2 separate regions of the Homo sapiens genome follow, and region 1 is linked to region 2. Evidence: promoter capture Hi-C in 16 types of primary human blood cells and fetal thymus (Javierre and others, 2016). All regions are on one chromosome and are shown on one strand. Each heading gives the region's core, a stretch centred on a gene start or on the middle of the fragment in contact. The rest is flanking DNA. Distances are from core to core; before and after follow the strand shown.

What was found. Contacts are between HindIII fragments. The CHiCAGO score rates a contact against its expected background, and 5 or more counts as called.
Region 1: a contact is called between a fragment that was not itself captured here and the fragment with the promoter of LINC02910 in region 2, in 1 of 17 cell types (neutrophils). The highest score is 5.2, in neutrophils.

What each region holds. Positions count from the first base shown.
Region 1 is chr20:60,000,923-60,006,600 of GRCh38, reverse strand. It overlaps CDH26 (cadherin 26), which reads right to left. Exons shown (of 18, transcript NM_177980.4): 15 at 5,190-5,258; 16 at 3,735-3,788. Among named protein-coding and RNA genes, the nearest start is that of CDH26, 45 kb to the right of the region's middle. The HindIII fragment of the contact is 1,656 bases long and covers 1,360-3,015 here.
Region 2 is chr20:60,052,185-60,057,219 of GRCh38, reverse strand. It overlaps LINC02910 (long intergenic non-protein coding RNA 2910), which reads right to left and starts at 1,295. Exons shown (of 4, transcript NR_161293.1): 1 at 1,212-1,295. The HindIII fragment of the contact is 13,245 bases long and covers 478-5,035 here.

The DNA.
Region 1 (5,678 bases), core at 938-3,437, 52 kb after region 2:
GGAGGTGAAGAGCCAGGCCCAGGGTAGTTTGCTCACGTTTCCTCTCTTTGTGTTGGGGGAGAGAGGGAGGCCCTGCAAGCTCTCATGGCTAGACTTTCCAATGCCTGGGCTGAAACAAACTTTCAGTGAGGAAGGAACCCAAGTGAGCCCGGCCAGGAGGGTTGTTCCTGCTGACACCCTCACTCATGCCTTGCACCCCCTCAACTACACTGCCCCTCCTCGCTCATTTTGGCTTCTCTTCCTCTGAACCTGCCCATTGTTTCCCATGATGGGCTGCTGGCAGTCTCCTGCTCATCTGGCCCATGTCTGTGGATCTGGGTCTCTGTGCTATCTAAGGGCAGAGGATACAGTGGTAGGAAACAGGCTTGGCATCTACTGGAAGGAGTGGCTATCTGGGGGCTCACAAATCCCACCACTAAATCATGTGAGTCAGGCTGGCCTGGAGGCAAGCAAAGCACCTGGGGCCTCACTGTCGAGCTCACGCAGGTGCAAGGCAAGCACCCAAGAGTGGCGGTAAATGTAAGACTGATCACCAAGGGAAGGTTTAAGAGGGGATCTCACCCAGTTGAGAGCAGGGAGTTCTCAGGAGGAGGAAGTTGTAGGGCCATGGAACAGAAGGGAATTCCAATGAGAAGAAACAGCACAGGCCCTAAGCAGGGAGGGAACTTGGCGTGTTCTGTGGCTGGAGCCCAAAGAGGTGGGGTGCTGGGATGGTTAGGGAGGTGGGGGGAGGCTCAGAGCAAGTTGAAGCCATACGTGAGCAAAGGCCATGTGATAGAGGGTCTCACAGGACATTAAAGACATAGGTCTGTCTTAGGCTGGGTTCTGCAAAGCAGCCCTGGAGGGAGGATCCCCTTAAGGTCATAAGGTTGTAGACTTTATCCCAGGTGCAATGGCAAGCCAACAGGAAGTCTTAAATTGGAGAGTGACATACAATTTGTGTTTTTAATCACTGGTGGCCTTTATGGCTGAGATGACTTCTGATCTTACCTGGGTTTAGGGATACTTATTGGGTTCCAGAAGACATATGTAAAATATGATAAAGCCTGGGGCAATTATGTATGTCCATGAGGCTATATATACACATACATACATACATACATACATACATACATACATACAGATATATACACATGCACATATACAGACAAACATACACATGTTCATATATGCATACTCATGCCTCTGTACATGTACATGCTTCTATACATATACATATAGACATATAGACATATACATATACAGTTGACCCTTGAACAATGTGGGGGTTAGGGGTGCTGACCCTGCACAGTTGAAAACATGCCTATAACTTTTGATTCCCCGAAAACTCAACTAACAGTCTACTGTTGACTGGAAGCTTTTCCAATAATATAAACAGTCAATTAATGCACATTTTGTATGTCATATGTATTATATACTATATTATAACAAAGTAAGCTAGAAGAAAGAAAATGTCATTAAGGAAAATATATTCACTATTCATTAAGTAGAAGTGGATTATCATAAAGGTCTTCATCTTCATTGTCTTCTCTCTGAGTAGAATGAAGAGGAGGAGGGAGAAGAAGGGTTGGTCTTGCTGTCTCGGGGGTGGCAGAGGCAGAAGAAAACCCACATATAAGTGCACCCACACAGTTCAAACTCCTATTGTTCAAGGGTCAACTGAATACACATATCTATCTATATACACATGCATACATACAGTTATGCACGGCATAACATTTCAATGACAGGCCGTATATATAAAGCTGGTCCCATAAGACTGTAATGCTGTATTTTTACTGTACCTTTTCTATGTGTAGGTGTTTTTTTCTTTTCTTTTTTTTTTTTTTTTTTTTGAGATGGAGTCTCGCTCTGTCACCCAGGCTGGAGTGCAGTGGCGCGATCTTGGCTCACTGCAAGCGCCGCCTCCCAGGTTCATGCCATTCTCCTGCCTCAGCCTCCCAAGTAGCTGGGGCTACAGGCGCCCGCCACCACGTCCAGTTAATTTTTTGTATTTTTAGTAAAGACAGGGTTTCACCATGTTAGCCAGGATGGTCTCTATCTCCTGATCTCGTGATACGCCTGCCTCGGCCTCCCAAAGTGCTGGGATTACAGACGTGAGCCACGGCGCCCTGGCCTGTGTAGGTAGATACACAAACACCATTGTGTTCCAATTGCCTACAGTATTCAGTACAGTCACATGCTGTACGGGTTTGTAGCCTAGAAGCAACAGGCTACACCAAGAGGTCTAGGTGTGTAGTAGGCTACACCATTTAGGTTTGTGTAAAACACTTTATGAAGTTTACACAGTGATGAAATCACCTAACAACACATTTCTCAGAACGTATCCCCATCATTAAGCCAGACATGACTGTACATATACACATGTGTGTACACATAGTGAAGCCACATCATACCAAGGTAAGCTGAACCAAACATACTAAGCCAAAGAGGCAAGGTGTGGACCACTACAAGCAGCCCTAGGGACCCTGCTGCCTGGTTCCCAGTGCTGGGAGCACTTGACTGGAGATGCTGTGCCCTCAGTCTGTTTAGCCCCAGGGGCCTCTCAGAGGAGGACCCTTAAGATGTGGGCTATGTACAAAGTACCCTTGCACCAGATGCTCACTGACCAAGCATGGGGCTCATCCAGGACCAGAGGAAGACGCCGTGTCAGTTTCCAGCCTGGCTCCTTCCCGAGGTAGACTTGGGGTGATTTTGCCTCAAGCCAGCTTCAGGTCCTAACCCCACACTATGTATGGCTGCACTGTGGCTGAGAGAGCACTATCTCTCCTCTCTGGGCTTCTGTGGACTTAGCCACTGGTTTAACTCTATCCCCAGGGCCTACGACTCCTCAAAGATACTTCAGCTAGAGTATTTGAAATTTATTTTCATTATTTACAAATTATTTCAATAACAATATTGAATATTATTTTTATAATATAACAGAAAGTGGTTTACATCTTTTTTAGTCTCCCACACCAACATGTAAATTTGGGATGCCATGTTAATTAGCTTTTATGCAACTCAAATGAAGCTTTTGGTCCCATGTTTCATTAATCAAAGAGAATCCTAACATTGTAAACTGAGCTATTCAAAAACCATTAAGATTTGAAACTGCTTGTTGGTATATATCAAAATTTTCTTGATACTTTAAAAACCAGTTTATAATAATGCGAGGCAATGAATTAGGTGTTAAGTTAACATAATTTTGCAAACTATATCCACAACATTCAACTTCCTTCTGTTTACATCAGAATCATTATTTTTATTGGCTATTTTGGTAATAGGTATATGTCATTAATGTCAATGCATACAAAATTAGTACTTAGATGTTTTATTTACAATGGAGTTATTTGTAGGATCTCATTTGAAAAGAAGAATTCTGGTGCAAAACATATTTAGAAAAAAAAATTGACTAGATGATGTCTAAGACCCCCTTAGCTCAAAATTTCTATAGGTCTGTGACAAAGCACAGCAGAAAACTCAGCCTATGACTGAGGTCTTAGCAACTCAACAGCAAAAGAAATTTGCCAGGGACTGAAAAGCTCTTATGCCCTCGAGTCACGGGATAAATGTGCCTTAACTACTTCCAACCTCTCTTCACGTTCGCTTCTCCTTCAGTTTGCTTGGATGTTGGGCATATTTTTTTTTATCACCTCTTTCCTTCCAAATTTCCAATTTTCAGGGATTTGCACAGCTTTTAGGCAGAACAATAAGGTAAATTTGTTCACGGTAACACCTACATCTATACTTACAGGAGTAGAGTGTATGTTTTTCACACTTCTTGGCTCAAAGGGCTTGCCATAACCCTTAAAGAAAGATGAAATATTTACTGATTTCAAATAAATTACCAAAGGATGCAAATACATAACTAGAAATTCTTGCAGTCATATTGCCTTTCATTTTTGTACTAAAGGTATAGTAATTCTAAAGAGTGTAGATATTCATAGCAGAAATTCATGAACAAGTTTCACAGTTGCTTTGTGAAGAAGGAACATGAGAATATTAGATTTGCAAGCTCTATCTTGGGTCCATTAACACCCAGTAAGATTTCCTTTTGCCATGGCCATGCCCTGAATACAAACAAATGACACACATCCACTCCTAGGACCCAGGCCTAGCGGCACAACTCTCAGGGCTCAGTGCAAGATGAAAGTTGGGGGCCCTTTGTTCAAAAATTAAGAATTTCAAGATGGTGACAGTAGAATATTAAACCAAGCAGAGGTTCTTTAGAGTGGGAGGCCCTGTGCCATGGTGGGTGTTCCATGTCCATGCAGCTGGCCCGAACAGGACCAGAAGGATCAGCTGCAAGGACATGGAACCCAACATTCATCAATGCGGGAGCCCTTCAGTGATGGATTTGTGGCATCATCTTTGTGCAAAGAAGAACATCATGTTTTCATCTTTGCTCAGATACTGCCTGTGCAAAGATATGAAATTATAGAGATCTTGAATTTATTTTAGAAGCTTTCCCTCATAAAAATTGGATATGATTCTATGGCTCTTTAGACCCTGAATACCTCTTTTAATTCTATATCAGAAAAGTACATTTTGGTTAAATAATGGCTAGTTAAACTGGTGAGGTCCAAATAAGGTCTGTGACTGAGAACTGTACTCACAGTGTTGTGCCAAAGCCCATTTTCTGATTTGATCATGGAGTAGGGTTACATAAGATGGTATATTTGGGGGACCCCCAAGAACTCTCCAAACTATTTTTGCAACTTCTATTTAGTCTAAAATTATTTCAGAAAAAGTCATTTCACAAAGCAATAGTCCTGGAATTTGTATGTAGAGTACAAGAAGACACAACACAGATGGGAAGTCAGGCCTCCCTTTCGCTGGAAGCATGCAGTCACTGGGCTGGAATTTAGTCAGGGCCAAAGTGCTGTGCTTTTAACTTTATAGATGATCTCTGGTGCCCTTAGAAGGACATGAGAAAATGTATCTATTTGTGGATGCTCTAAAAAGTGTCATATTTGATCAGGATTATCAAACAACTCTAAAAACAGCAGCCATCACCAATAATAATACCTAGTTCTATAGATGGAAATAGAGTCGGGTGGAAAAAGCCCAGCTTCTCAGATTTTCATTGACTATGTGCCTTTTTCTGACAGTATCACCGAATCTTCTACAACGGCCCTCTCTCAGGGGGACCAACTGTTAGTCACTAGTGAGATGGCCGTAGCAGGGAGCAACCTTCTGGAACTCACCCAGCTCCCCAGAGCACAGCGTGCTTGGGCTGACTGACTCGCTGCAGATGGAGGCACTTCCTCGAGATCCTAGAGGGAAAATGCTGATTTACTCAAAAGAGAATGGATTTCTCTCCAGCTGGAAACAAAGTGGGCATGCGTGACCTCTCACCACTTCCCCTTGCTCATATATTCATAGGCAAACACAAATTAACACGATGAGAGGGAGGGCGCGGTGGGAGGAAAAGGAAAATGAAGAGAGGCAGGGAATGCAGGGATAAAAGGGCAGGCACAATGGAACCGCATGGCAGGAGGAGGTTTGAACATGAAGACGCTAATGTTCTTTCCATGACACAGACACCTGAAAACTGCATAGACACGCAGATGACATCTAGAAGGTGACACTCACAGGTGAAACTGTTTAGATTCAGGGATGGGATTGTGGGCATTTTCTGCCTTGGGTTTCTGTTATTTTAATAGTGACGCTTCAATAATGAAGTTATATTTCAA
Region 2 (5,035 bases), core at 46-2,545:
TTGGAACTCAAGCAATAAGGCACTTTGATGGCAGGCACCTTAATGGGGGGTGGGGGAACACCCTTTACCAACAACCATGCAAATGGCCCAGGTGCTCCTGTGACCCCTGATCCCAGGGGCTCCACCAGAGCACCAGAGAGAGAGGGATGTGGGAAGAGCAGAGGACAGAAGAGGACACGTGCATCTAACCACTCGGAGGACAGGAGAAGGCACCCTAACCTTCTGAGCTGCCATCTTCCAATCAGGAGGAGGGGAGCACTGGATACATAATCTCAAGGCTTTCCCTACAGTTCTCTCAACAGGACAGACAGGCAGGGGTGCACAGTGGTTAGAGCACAGGCTTTTTGGTCAGACAGAACTGGGTTAAAGATCAGACACGTCCACTCACTCTCAATGAGTCCATATCTGTAAGCCTAAGCTTCCGTCCTCACACATGTTGATAAAAGAAAAAGAAAAAAAAAGGCCAAGTGCAAAGCTTTTAGCATTGTTTCTGGTTCAGGGTATGGACTTAATACTGTTTTCTATCATTATAACCACACTAAAGGCTCTGAGAAGTCCTGCAGGAAGGAAAACTACTTGTCTTTATCTCAGCCATCCCCAAGCTAGCTGCCCACAGAGCCACCATGGAGCCCACAGCTCTGTCACCCCACAGGGCCCATGTGCCTGGCCCATTCATGTTCCCTCACACGGGAGCCTCAGGCCCCAGTGGAAACAGACTCAGGAGACAAACCCAGGCCTCCTGCTCCCAGCTCCCCACTCTGTCCTTCTGCTTCTACATCCAACTACCCCCAAAGCAGTTTCTACAATCCATAAACAAAAGAATTCAGAGACAATTCTCCAGGGCTCCCAAGACGACATATTTCATCTGTGGCTTCTACAGTGCTTATTTGTCAGTTTTACAGACCAGAGGCAATTAAGAGTCTAAGGCCGAGAAGGCTGTTTTTAATAATTCTGTCATTATTCTCAATTTTCAGCACCACCACACATGAAAAACCCATTTCCAATTCCCTTAAAGGTGTTAAATGGTTTTTGCACTGTGTTGCAAAAGTTTGCCGTCCGCCAAACTGCTACAAAGTGGGCTTGTAGCGTCCGGTCCTGAGCTGTGGGAACGACTTGGTCGGGGCTGATCCGCTGGAGCCCAGCTCTTTCCCCAAGCGTTCAATTCCCAGCACATGCCGCGTGGGTCACTGTGGATTTCAGGGTGGACTCACCGCGCTGCTGGGTGTTGCAGTCCACGCGATTTCACAAGACTCCATGCAGGACACCTCCACCCGGCCCAGGCTCAGGCAGGATATGAACAGGAAACCACTGTTTCCTGCCGATCAACACCCAGGAACTGATGAAGTAACCCAGTGCCCAGCCCCTCTGACAGCCACAGAGCCAAGAAGAGGGAAGTGAGGTGGCATCCAAGGCAGCCCCTGAAAGAACTAAGCAAGGCAAGTTCAAGGGGTTCAGGGCTCTGCAGCAGCTGATGGGGAGCAGGGAGGAGCATTCCGTTTTCAGGGCATTGAAAGTCCTTGAAAGGAGAAAATTTTATAAGGAATGACAAGGCCTGGATGCAGAAGGTGGGAGACCCCTGCCCTTGATAACCGTCATAGTTACCAATGACAACTATGATAAAGAGATGACTTTCTGTGGCTCCCACTTGCTGCCCTCTGTGGTTCCAGGCACATCACAGAGAACTCTTCATTTTCATGAGGCCCCATAAGGACATCCCTATTACTATGATCCTTATCAATATCCTGATGTTACAAATGAGGGAACCAGGACACAGAGACGCTGAGGAACTTGTCTGAAGTTACATGGTGGAGACATAGCCTGGGACGCAGCAGTGAGAGGGACAGACGAGCCCTGCCCCTGTGCACCAAGCCATCTGCTGGGGACGCAGAAATCAAACAGCTCGTGGCTGCCCTTGTGCCCAGCGCTGTGGGCATGAGCGAGCTGCTTTGAAGAGACAGCGTGGTGACCTGCCCTGCTGGCCCAGGCAGCATCACACGGCAAGAAGGCGGGCTTTGAAGGGTTTTAAACAGAGTCGTGTTCCCACGTCTGCAGTGAGAGGGCTGCAAGCCTTTGTGTTTTTCACACGGTGTTACACAGCGTTGGGGTCCACGGACCTGCCTCGGAAGCTGCTCATGGGCAAATGGACGACCACGGGTGGGGAAGGAAATTTCCCCCAAACACACACATGCTTCACCCAGAGCAGCCAAGCTGTTTGTGTGTTTGTGTGTATTCACGTGTGTATGTGTGTGTGTGTGTCTTATGCCTAATGGTTCATTGAGTTTAAGGATCTCTCAGCTCCCTTGCAGCACAAATGTTTCATAATTTGGTGGTTAGCGCGCAGTGACCAGGCAATACAGGTTCATCAAAATGCACCAATGAGACAGAGACAGGAGAGGATGTTTTGGCAGCAGACAGACATCCAGGAGGCCTAGCACACCCCCATCCCCCGGCCCCAACCTCAGAGAGATAATCAGGGGAGCAAAGGGCATTAGTATGAAACGACCAAAGAGACTTAGCGAGCAACGTCAGACTCCCTGCAACACGCGTGCTGATGGGACAGAGGGGGAGTTATTTTTATACTTCAGAAATAACCAAGCATTCTGCATGCCCAAAGCCAGTTTGGGTTTTAAATACCTTTCATAATTTTTCTGACTATGGAGGTAATACATCCTCAGGGCATAAAATTTAGAAATTATAGAAGAGTATTTTTAAAAATCCAACCATTGAGCAATAACCATTATAAAAATCTTACTGTTTTCCTTTCTTGTCATTTATCTAGGCTCATACAGATATTTGGGGCTTTTTTCACAAAACTAGGAAAATGTTAAAATATATATTCTAATATTGTCTCGATTTTATTATTAGATTTATCATAACCATAAAAGATTTGAACACTTTTAACGACAGCGTATTATTCCATTTCCATGGAATTACTGTAATGAATCTCCTACTGTTGGGTTTCAGTTGCTTCCAAATTTGAATGTAAATAATTTGGGGGCAGTTCTCACTCCATCAATGGCAGACTAGGTTGAATACAGCCGAGGTTTTGCAGGCACACACTATGCCCAAATTAAAGCCACAGCCCAGGATGTTGGCCATGGAGAGATGATGCTTTCAACTGTATCAACTCTTGAAGCTGGTGAACCATGGCTTCTCCCCTTCAGGCGCTGGCAGACCTTCTCCTCACACTCTTGGCTCTTTGCTGGGCTGACAACTCCCTACTTGCCCTGCAGGCCTTCCCTGAGCTCTGGGGTCTTCTTTCTGCCCCCTTCCATAGCTCCCCGTGGCTGCCACATCTCAGCACTGACATCCTACGTGGCTCTTTGTCCACACCTAGCTCCCTAGACCATGCACCCCTTGTGAGCTAGGTCTTTGTCTTCCACATGGAAGTTCTCACTAAACACTTGAATAAAGGAATGAATAAACAAATGAATGAACAAACAATCTAACAAAGAAGGAGCACATGGGCTGACCTTGCAGGGCTCTCACGCCAAATCCTGGAGGCGCCTTCTGCAGCCGTTTCTGTCTCCCAGCCAGTCCACCTGTTGCTCGGGCTGCTACTCAGAAGTGGCGCGTACAGGAAGCACGTGCTTGTTTGTGCTGGCCCCATGTTTGTTTGCATTTAGGATCACGGAGTTTACTCAATTAATAAATAGAGTGGAGAGGGGGTACTGCCTCTGTTTGGCAGACAAAACAAACAGAGGAGAGGGGAAGATGTCCAGGGCAGATTTCTCCCGCTTTCAATCTTAAATAAATAACCAGTTTCCCGATGCTAATTTTTCCTCTTTATGATCTTGTCTATCTGTGCACAGACGATGAGGTCTGATCCCTTGTGGTCCCAAATGCCACGTGGCAGTGAGCTTCCAGGCCACGTCCCTATTGCGCCAGAAGAGCCCATGTGTGTCTTTGTGAGCATGTTCATAGTTAACCTTGTTGATCATTACATGAACGTGTTTAATCCTTACCACAAGCCTGGGAGATAGGAACTCTTACTGTCCAAATTGCACAGATGGGCAAGCCGAGACACAGAGAGGTAATGTAACTTGCTCAAGACCACACAGCCAGCAATGGCAGAGCCTGGATTTTAATCCTGACAATCTAACTTCAAAACCTATACCTGTGATCACCAGCTAGTCCTCAATAGCCAATGTGCTGATTTCTAAAGAAATTCCAGCACATTCCCGCCATATATAAGCAGCCTGTTATTCCCAGGGAATATAAATGCCTTGGGTTTAATTTAATGAAAGCTGTTATTGGAAAAGATACACCAAGATAATTAATTTCTTAAACAATGGAAATGAGGCTGCGGTTGTGTACAATTTTGTTTTTAACTGGAGGTCTCCCACCTCTGGAAGAGGGTATGCTAGAAAGCTGAGAATCCCAGGAAGAGAACTGGTAGGTGAGTCTGGAGGCTGCATGAGCCTCAGGGTCATGGAAGGTGTGCCAGTGTGTGGGTGCCAGACCCAGAAGAGGGTGCCAAGATCACCTGGAGCAGAGCATCCAGGGAGCTGGGCAAAGCTCTCAGAGATCTTTCCCTGCTTTGAAATGAGACAACCAATCCAGGGTATAAGTCCATGCTGGAGCCATGGCAAAGAAGAACTAGGACCCAGCCTGCCAGCCCCTTTTTGAGGCTGGGACTTCTTGTTACCTCTACAGGATAGTATGATAGAAGGCCCCCTGGCACAGGGCCAACTGGCATATAGTGGGTAACTTCTGCATGTTCGGAGGTTAGTCTTAGCCTTCTTACCCTTTATGATAGCACCCTGATCCCCCCGCCCCAACTTCCTATTGTGTGAATCCTGCTGGGTGGGACTCTCCAAACAAGGATCTCACCCTGCCCAGAGGGGAGGCACGTAACCTGAGCAGATCCACTGGACCCTCTTGCTCAAGGTCCCCACCTTTGAGGAGAAGACCCCCAAAAGAGTAGAAAAGGTGCCTATGTCTTCTGGCCACAGCCCTGAGGCCTCCCGGACACCAGAGTGCCTAGGCTCTGGTTCTTTCTAGGTCCATTTCTCCAGCTTCTGCCCTACATTTG